Linked DNA regions of Homo sapiens: region 1 is linked to region 2. Evidence: promoter capture Hi-C in 16 types of primary human blood cells and fetal thymus (Javierre and others, 2016). All regions are on one chromosome and are shown on one strand. Each heading gives the region's core, a stretch centred on a gene start or on the middle of the fragment in contact. The rest is flanking DNA. Distances are from core to core; before and after follow the strand shown.

Evidence for each region. Contacts are between HindIII fragments. The CHiCAGO score rates a contact against its expected background, and 5 or more counts as called.
Region 1: a contact is called between a fragment that was not itself captured here and the fragment with the promoter of AURKC in region 2, in 1 of 17 cell types (total CD4 T cells). The highest score is 14.1, in total CD4 T cells.

Annotation. Positions count from the first base shown.
Region 1 is chr19:37,083,724-37,087,637 of GRCh38, forward strand. All of the region lies in intron 2 of ZNF420 (zinc finger protein 420), which reads left to right. Among named protein-coding and RNA genes, the nearest start is that of ZNF420, 7.2 kb to the left of the region's middle. The HindIII fragment of the contact is 3,177 bases long and covers 1-2,933 here.
Region 2 is chr19:57,229,206-57,233,724 of GRCh38, forward strand. AURKC (aurora kinase C) reads left to right here and starts at 1,818. Exons shown (of 7, transcript NM_001015878.2): 1 at 1,818-2,101; 2 at 2,537-2,582; 3 at 2,828-3,019; 4 at 3,337-3,475; 5 at 4,255-4,403. The coding sequence starts at 2,044. The HindIII fragment of the contact is 17,293 bases long and covers 1-4,519 here.

The DNA.
Region 1 (3,914 bases), core at 95-2,594, about 20 Mb before region 2:
ATTTTGTACAATTTCCTGTCCCAAACATAAAATCAGCCACTTCTTTATGGAGCCCTGGTTCCTTTTATAAGAAGTGCTTTTAAGAAGTCACAACAAGGATAGTAGGAACTCTCATTGCTCCTAGTTGTCATTGCTTATAGCCTTAACAGAGCTGGTGAAATACAAATTTTTTAGAAGGAGAAAAAAAATCCTGAGTGTATACTGATATTTCCAATTGAAATAAAAGATTATAGAGTTTTTCTTACTATCTTTGATTTTATATTTGTGTTTTATAATCTGAAAAAATCTTAATTCGTAATGATTAATGATATTAAGATTCTCACTGATATATGTGTGTGTATAATCATTTCAGGTTATATACATATATTACTTTTAGACTAACAATGCCAATATTATTAATAACAGTATAACTACTGAAAAACTCTAAGACATAACTTCATAAAGTTATAAACTCTTAAGACAACTTTGAAAAACAGTTTATAGTTATTTTGTTTGTAGGTTATATTGGGTCTAATGTCAAATGACTGTATTTTAAAGTTCCCGAAAATAATCACTTCCTTTATATGTTTAACCTTCCAGCTTTATGCACAGATAAGTTTGTTTCATTTTGCTTTTATTTCTTAGAGATTTTTTTTCATTTTGATTTAATTTTGTGATTATAGTTATAGAAAACATACTTGTGGTTCCAAAGTCAAATAGATTTGATTGGTAATACTTTATAACTTTGTTGTATGTCTGTCTTCCTAGAAGCTATTGAGCTGTAACTTTTTTCATGTAATATCTTTGTGAGGTTTTAGTATTATGGTTATTTGGCCTCAAAATGTAGAACAGACTGCTGTCTCCTTTTTCTGTTTTCTGAAAACGTTTGTGAAAGAACAGTATTATATCTGCCTTAAATATTGGTAGAATTTACCAGTAAAGCCATCTGGGCCTTCTCTGTGGACAGTTTATTTGTTTGTTTCTCACATTCAATTTCTTTAATATCCATGGGATGATTTGTATTTCTGTTTTTTCTTGTGTGAATTTTGGCAATTTTTGTTTTAAGGAATTTGTCTATATTGTTGAAATTGCCAAAATTATTGGCATAGAATTGTATTATCTTTTTAATTAAAGCCTTAAAAAATCTGTGGTCCAGTCTCCACTTTGGTAATATTTTTTTTTGAAAACTTGATAGGGGTTTGTAAACTGTATTAATCTTTTGAAAGAATTGATTTTTGAGTTTGTTGATATTCTCTATTGTAATCTACTTTATATTGTGGATTTTGTGCTTATTTTTATTCTTTCTTTTCTTCTTACTTTCAGCTTCACTTGCTCTTCTTTTTCCAGCTTCCTAAGGTGGGAGCCTAAATCATTTTTCTAACATAAGCATTTAACACTATTAATTTTCCTCTAAATACTGCTTTTGTTGCAGCTCACAGAATCTGATAAGTGTGTTTCCATTGTCACTCAGTTCGGCATATTTTTCAATGTCTTTTTGCATGGGTTATTTAGAAGTATGTTTAATTTCCAAATATTTGGAGATTCTTGTTACTAGTTTGTAATTTAATAATATGTGGACACTGACCACAGTATATTCTCTGTATAATTCAGTTTTTAAAATATTTACTGTTACTTGTTTTATGACCCAGCATCTGGTTTATTTTGATGACCTTTCCATACGCAGTTGTTAATGAAGAGTCTGACTCTTGCTAAAATCCTATGTGTGGGTTCTCAGGCTCCACCAGGTCATTCCTGGCAGGCCACACAGGGGAAAGGTGGCCTCCCCGCAGCAGACTTGGTGCACTTCTAGTGCATTACAGTCTCTAAAGGGAGTTGCAGTGCAGGACTCAGGCCTCCCAGACCAGCCATGCTGTTATGCGTGTTTACATTCCTAACCCAGGCACCTCCATTAGGAGGCCTCTTTATCAGGTGCCTCTGCCAAGAGGACATCCTAATCTAGGGGAGAGGGGAAACTTTGAAGACACTTTCTTTCCCCACTCTTAGTATCCGGTAGTTTTAATTTTTTTCTTTATTTCTTTTTTCTTTCTTCTCTTTTCTTTTTTTTTAACATATTTTTGGAGACAGGATATTGCTCTGTCGCCCAGACTGGAGTGTAGTGGCATGATCATAGCTCATTGCAGCCTTGAACTCCTGGACAGTTCAAGCAATCCTCCTGCCTCAGCCTCCCAAGTAGCTAGGACTACAGGTTTGCATCACAATGCCTGGCTGATGTTTTATTATTATTATTATTATTATTATTATTATTATTATTATTATTTTGTAGAGACAGATTCTTGCTATGTTGCCCAGGCTGGTCTCAAACTTCTGGCCTCAAGTAATCTTCCTGCCTCGGCCTCCCCAAGTGCTGGGGTTGCTTACAGGCATGAGCCACCGTGCCCAGCCAGGCCTCACTACTTTTTCACTCTTAGCCCTTCCCTTGTCTTCTTGTCCCCTGGTCCCAGTCCATAAAATGAATGATAGGAGCTTTTTGTTCTGCATTCCCTTAGCAGTGAGATGACTCACTTCTGCACTGATCCACATTTGCACTGATCTGCCTGACCCTCTCTGACCCTCTCCAGGTGCTATTTCATGGTTGGGGTTGGGGGAGTGAAACAGTGGAGTACTCAGCGCTTTCTCTGGGTTAGCCTCTTAAATTAAGTGACTACTAAGTGATTAAAGGCTGGTTGTGTTAATCACTTATTCCAACACCTTGCAGCTCAGTTCTCTTCAGCCCAGCTTGGCTTTTGGTAAGTGGGTGTGGTATTCTATTAATATATATTTATCATCTTGGCCAAGGTACTTGATATAGTGGTATGTAAATCCTCTATATTGTTATCGATTTTATTGTCTACTTGTTCTGTCAGTTACTGAGCAAAAGATTTTACAATTCCCAACTCTGTGGGTTTGTCTCTTTCTTCCTTTAGTACTGTCAATTTTTGCTTCACACATTTTGAAGCTTTGTTGTTAAATCTCTACATTTGGATTGCTGTCTTCTTGATGAGTTGATCCTCCTTATTGCTAGTATTTCTCTTTATCTTGAAGTCTATTTTGTCTTATACTAATATAGGCATACAAGCTTTCTTGTGATTAGAGTTTGATGGTGTATCTTCCCATTTTACTTTTAGCCCATCTTTATATTTAAAATGTGCTTCTTGTAAAGAGCATGTAGTTGGAACATGCATTTTTATCTTGTCTTGTTACCATTTTTTTATTGGAATGGTTGAACTATTATTAATACAATTTAGTTTAAGCTCTGCCATAGATGGGAGCATCCATATGTGGCTCTTAAGAAGAGCTTAGGGCCACATGTGGTGGCTTATACCTATAATCCCATCACTTTGGGAGGCTGAGGCAGGAGGATTGCTTGAGGCCAGGAGTTCAAGACCAGCCTGGGCAATGTAGCAAAACCTCATCCCAACAAAAAAAGTAAAAATTAGGTGAGTATGATGGCACATGCCTGCAGTCCTAGCTACTTCGAAGGCTGAGGAGGGAGGATTACTTGAGCCTAGGAGTTCAAGGTTACAGTAAGCTATGATCATACCACTGCACTCCAGCTTGGTTGAGAGTGAGACCCTGTCTCAAAAAAAAAAATAAATAAATAAATAAATAAATAAATAAATAAATAAATAAATAAAAATTAAGAGCTTGGCACTTTTTTGGAGTTTAGGTCTTTTAAATTTGTGCCCTCAGCTCTCTGATGAATTTAAAAGAAATTATGACTTTTCATCTTATCTGAATTATTTTTAGGTTGTTAGGATGGGCCCAAGTATCTCTTGCAGAAATCTATATGTTGAAGAAGTCAAATTTTCAGTTAAAAATGTATTGAGCACCTGTATCAATGATTCTCTGCAGGGGCAGTTATTCTCCCTAGAGGGTGTTTTGGAAATATATCTAGGTACTGTTGAATGTTAAAGTAAGTGGGTTGAGGGTAAAGA
Region 2 (4,519 bases), core at 568-3,067:
TGAGCCGAGATCGCACCACTGCACTCCAGCCTGGGCGACAGAGTGAAACTGCATCTCAAAAAAAAAAAAAAATTCCTCAAGTACAGGAATGCATAATTATTTTGCTATGTACATATCTGATTTTTTAGAGCAGTGCCTGTTGCAAGATAGGCACTCAATCGATACTCATTAAATTAACAATATACACATATATAAAACAGCACTTTCACATGGTTATGAGTGACCTAAGGAAAAACAGAACAGGATGACGTTGTAGTGGGGGCTGTTTTAAATTGACAGTTTGGAGCTGGGCGCAGTGGCTCACACCTGTGATCCCAGTATTTTGGGAAGCCGAGGCGAGTGGATCACCTGAGGTCAGGAGTTCGAGACCAGCCTGGCCAACATGGTGAAACCCTGTCTCTACTAAAAATACAAAAATTAGCCGGGCATGGTGGCAGGTGCCTGTAATCCCAGCTACTCAGGAGGCTGAGGCAGGAGAAATGTTTGAACCTAGGAGGCGGAGGTTGCATGAGCTGAGTTCGAGCCACTGCACTCCAGCCTGGGTGACAGAGCAAGACTCCGTCTCAATAAACAAACAAACAGACAGGTTTGGGAAAGCCTCTGAGAAAGGAATGGTTGGCCTGAGCTAAGCGCCATTACCCTGATCCACCTATTGTAACCACCTAATGGGTTCATTATTTTCCCTGCTCCCCAGATAGAGTCGACTTATCAAGACAGGATAATTGCAATAAAGGGTTTAATTCACATCAATCGAGCTAAATGAGAGACCAGAGTTTTATTACTCAAATAGGTCTCCCCAAATATTTTGAGACGAGCTTTTTTGTTTTTGGGTTTTTTTGTTTTTGTTTTTGTTTTTTTTGAGACAGAGTCTCGTTCTCCTTCTGTCGCCCAGGCTGGAGTGCAGTGGCATGATCTTGGCTCACTGCAACCTCCGCCTCCAGGGTTCAAGCGATTCTCTTGCCTCAGCCTTTTGAGTAGGTGGGATTACAGGCATGCGCCACCACACCCGGCTAATTTTTGTAGTAGAAACGGGGTTTCGCCCTGTTGGCCAGGCTGGTCTCGAACTGCCTACCTCAGGTGATCCGCCCGCCTCGGCCTCCCAAAGTGCTGGGATTACAGGCATGAGCCATCACGCCAGGCCTTCAATTATATTTCTGCAAGATATGTTCCCTGTCTAAAAGAATTCAATTTTTAATGTTTTTGAAACTTATGTGTTTGCTAAACAAATACGTGGGGGCTGATTTTACGATCTGAGGCCAAATCCACAAACTGATTACAGGGTCCAACAAATATTTGGCGAGTGGGAGGAGAGGGGTAAGTGAGCTGGACTGGTGGCGTCCTGGCTGTGAGCAGGCACAGCCGCAGGCTTCAGGGAGCCCCATCGCGGTGACCCTGGAGAGTGGCCTGAATCGGACGTGACCTTGAAGCAAGGTGGTTTTGGGGTCGCCGGCTGCACAAGGCGCGAAGTGGTTTAGGGTCACGGGCTGCACGAGGCTCCAGCACGTCAGGAGTGGGCGTCTGTTCATTCCCACGTGCATCGCGGCTCTCTCCTAGTTGACGCATGCACACCCCGTGGGTGTATGCGTTGTTCATTCCCACAACGGCCATCACCACCTCTCCGCACCCTCTGTCTCCTTCCTTCTCGGGCCTCACCCCTGGCCCTCGCTTTCAGTGCCCAGCCCGGACCGCAGCACTCCAGTTCCGCCCCAACCCGGGAACCCTGGACTGAGGCTCCCGTTTCTGTCCTTTCTATTGGGCGCACTTCCGATGGCGTCAGGAATTTCAGCCAATAGGAGCCAGCCAGGAAGTACCTCTCTGAGCGGTTGGTGCCGGGTATAAAAGAAGGCCGCGCAGCCACGGCTGCTCACGACGCCGCGGATCCCGAAGCCTGTGTAGCAGTGAGACATCAGTGAGGCTGCAGGACGAGCAGGATTGGAAGCGCCCCGGCCAGAAAGTGACCCCCCACCCCTTTCAGGACCCTGTGAACGGGAACAGCCATCCAGAGGGTTCAGGAAGGCGTCCGCGCCCTCACCTCTTCTCCCCATGAGCTCCCCCAGAGCTGTGGTGCAGCTGGGCAAAGCTCAACCTGCAGGCGAAGAGTGTGAGAGCCAGCGCCAGAGAAAGGACGCAGGGAAGGCTGGGGACTGGGCCAGGGGTCGGGTGCACAGAAGACACATGTGTTGACATCTCCCCTCCCTCTCCTCCTCCCCAACGCTCTTCTTTTCTCCCCACTCCCTCCCTTCCCTCCAATTCTTTCTTTCACCTCTCCCTCCCCTACTCTCTCCTCCCCTTCCTTTCTCTCTGCCTCTTCTTCACCTCCTCCTCCCCTCCCTACCTTACCTTACTCTTTCTTCTTCCCCTTACCTCTCCCTCCCCCTCTCCCTGCCTTCCCCTTCCCTCTCTTTCTCTCCTCCCCTTCTTCCCCTCACCTCTCGCTCCCTATTCCCTTCTCTACTGTTCTCCTCTCCTCTCTTTCTCTCCCCTTCTCCTTCCCTCCCCTCTCCCTTCCTATCTCCCTCCTCCTCCTCTCTTTCAGTGGCTACAGCAAACCAAACAGCCCAGCAGCCCAGCAGCCCAGCCATGTGAGTCCCTTGGGATTGGTATCTGGAAAAGGAAGGAAGGTGGGACGTGGGGATGAAGAACAGACTGGGTGTGTGGGGTGCTGGCTCCTGGGAACGAGAACTACTGATAGGGCTGGGTCTGTGTGAGAAGGGAAAGCGGCAGAGGAAGGATACAATGAAAGAGGAAGGGGAGCATTGGCATCCCTGACTTTCCCTCCGCCTACCCTACCTCCCAAGCTGAGGCTTTTTTCTTCCTCTCCTGTCAGGCGGCGCCTCACAGTCGATGACTTTGAAATCGGGCGTCCCCTGGGCAAGGGGAAATTTGGGAATGTGTACCTGGCTCGGCTCAAGGAAAGCCATTTCATTGTGGCCCTGAAGGTTCTCTTCAAGTCGCAGATAGAGAAGGAAGGACTGGAGCACCAGCTGCGCCGGGAAATTGAGATCCAGGCTCATCTACAGTAAGGACAGTCTCTGCTTCCTCTTTCATCTTTGACGTCTGAGCCCAGCATTTTCCCCAAATACTAACCCCAAGTAAACCCTGCACTTGTACCTTGAAGACTTCTCTGCAGTTCATTCCATTTACACTACCTCCTACCCTGGGTCAGACACTCGAATCCTGGTTCCTGTTCTCCGTTCTCCCCTCACTTGCTCCCAGATAGGGCTGTTGTTATTCTGGTCCCAGCATAATTTGCCACTTGTGTGACCAGGCAGTGACGGTGGCATCATATGATAGGCCTCAGGGAGAAATCTGACTCTTCCAACATTAATCCTTCAGACACCCCAATATCCTGCGCCTGTATAACTATTTCCATGATGCACGCCGGGTGTACCTGATTCTGGAATATGCTCCAAGGGGTGAGCTCTACAAGGAGCTGCAGAAAAGCGAGAAATTAGATGAACAGCGCACAGCCACGGTGAGGTGCGGGTCTGGAGGCTCTGGGGTCTCTGAGTTTACTGTGGGCTGGTGGGAGCTCTGTTTGTGGCTGTCAGGAGGGTCCGCATTGCCTTCTGAGAAGTTTACTTCTGAATGTTATTGTGTAAATTTAATATAATGGCACGTATGTTCTACAGCTTTATCCTTGGATACCCTAATTAACCTCATTGTATCTCCAGAATATTAATAAGTACTGCGTATAGGTTTGGATTCTTTGGTTATAAGCAACAGAATCTAACTCCACTGCCTTATGTAAAGAAACATATTGAAAGGCTCTGAAGGAGTTCACTGAATAAATAGCTAGAACTGGCTTAGAGATAGGTACAAAGAGATTTCTAGAGGGTTCCGGAAAGGGAACCATGGCAATGATTTTCCCAGGAGCAATGGTCCAATCAGCTTGCTGTGTCAGGATGAGTGGTCTTCCATCTTTCCTCCTGTTTCTGTTTCACTTCCTCGGGCCTCAAGTCCTGTGAGAGATCATCTGAGTGGCTCAATGTAGGTTCTATGTCTGGCTACTTGCTGTGCTAGGACAACAGGGAGGATCTGTGTCCATGTTACCATCCATCCTATAAGACCACATAAAAAGGAGAGGAAAACCACACCCCACACACCAGTAACTGGTGCAATTTAAAAGGAGGAAATGGAGTTACTGGACCAAAAAGATTCCACTGTAATCATACAATTCATGGTAAGTGTTCCACCTCAGACGGAAATTGTGGCAGGCTTCACTTCCAGGGTGACTTTTCTTTGCACCCACAGATAATAGAGGAGTTGGCAGATGCCCTGACCTACTGCCATGACAAGAAAGTGATTCACAGAGATATTAAGCCAGAGAACCTGCTGCTGGGGTTCAGGGGTGAGGTGAAGATTGCAGATTTTGGCTGGTCTGTGCACACCCCCTCCCTGAGGTAGGTCAGGTGGTGGTGGTAGGGTGAGTTCTGAGTACCAGTTAGGAATGACCCAGTTTAATGTATTTCATGTGTCCATGTGTAAAACCTAGATACGAACTTGGGGTTTCTATTGG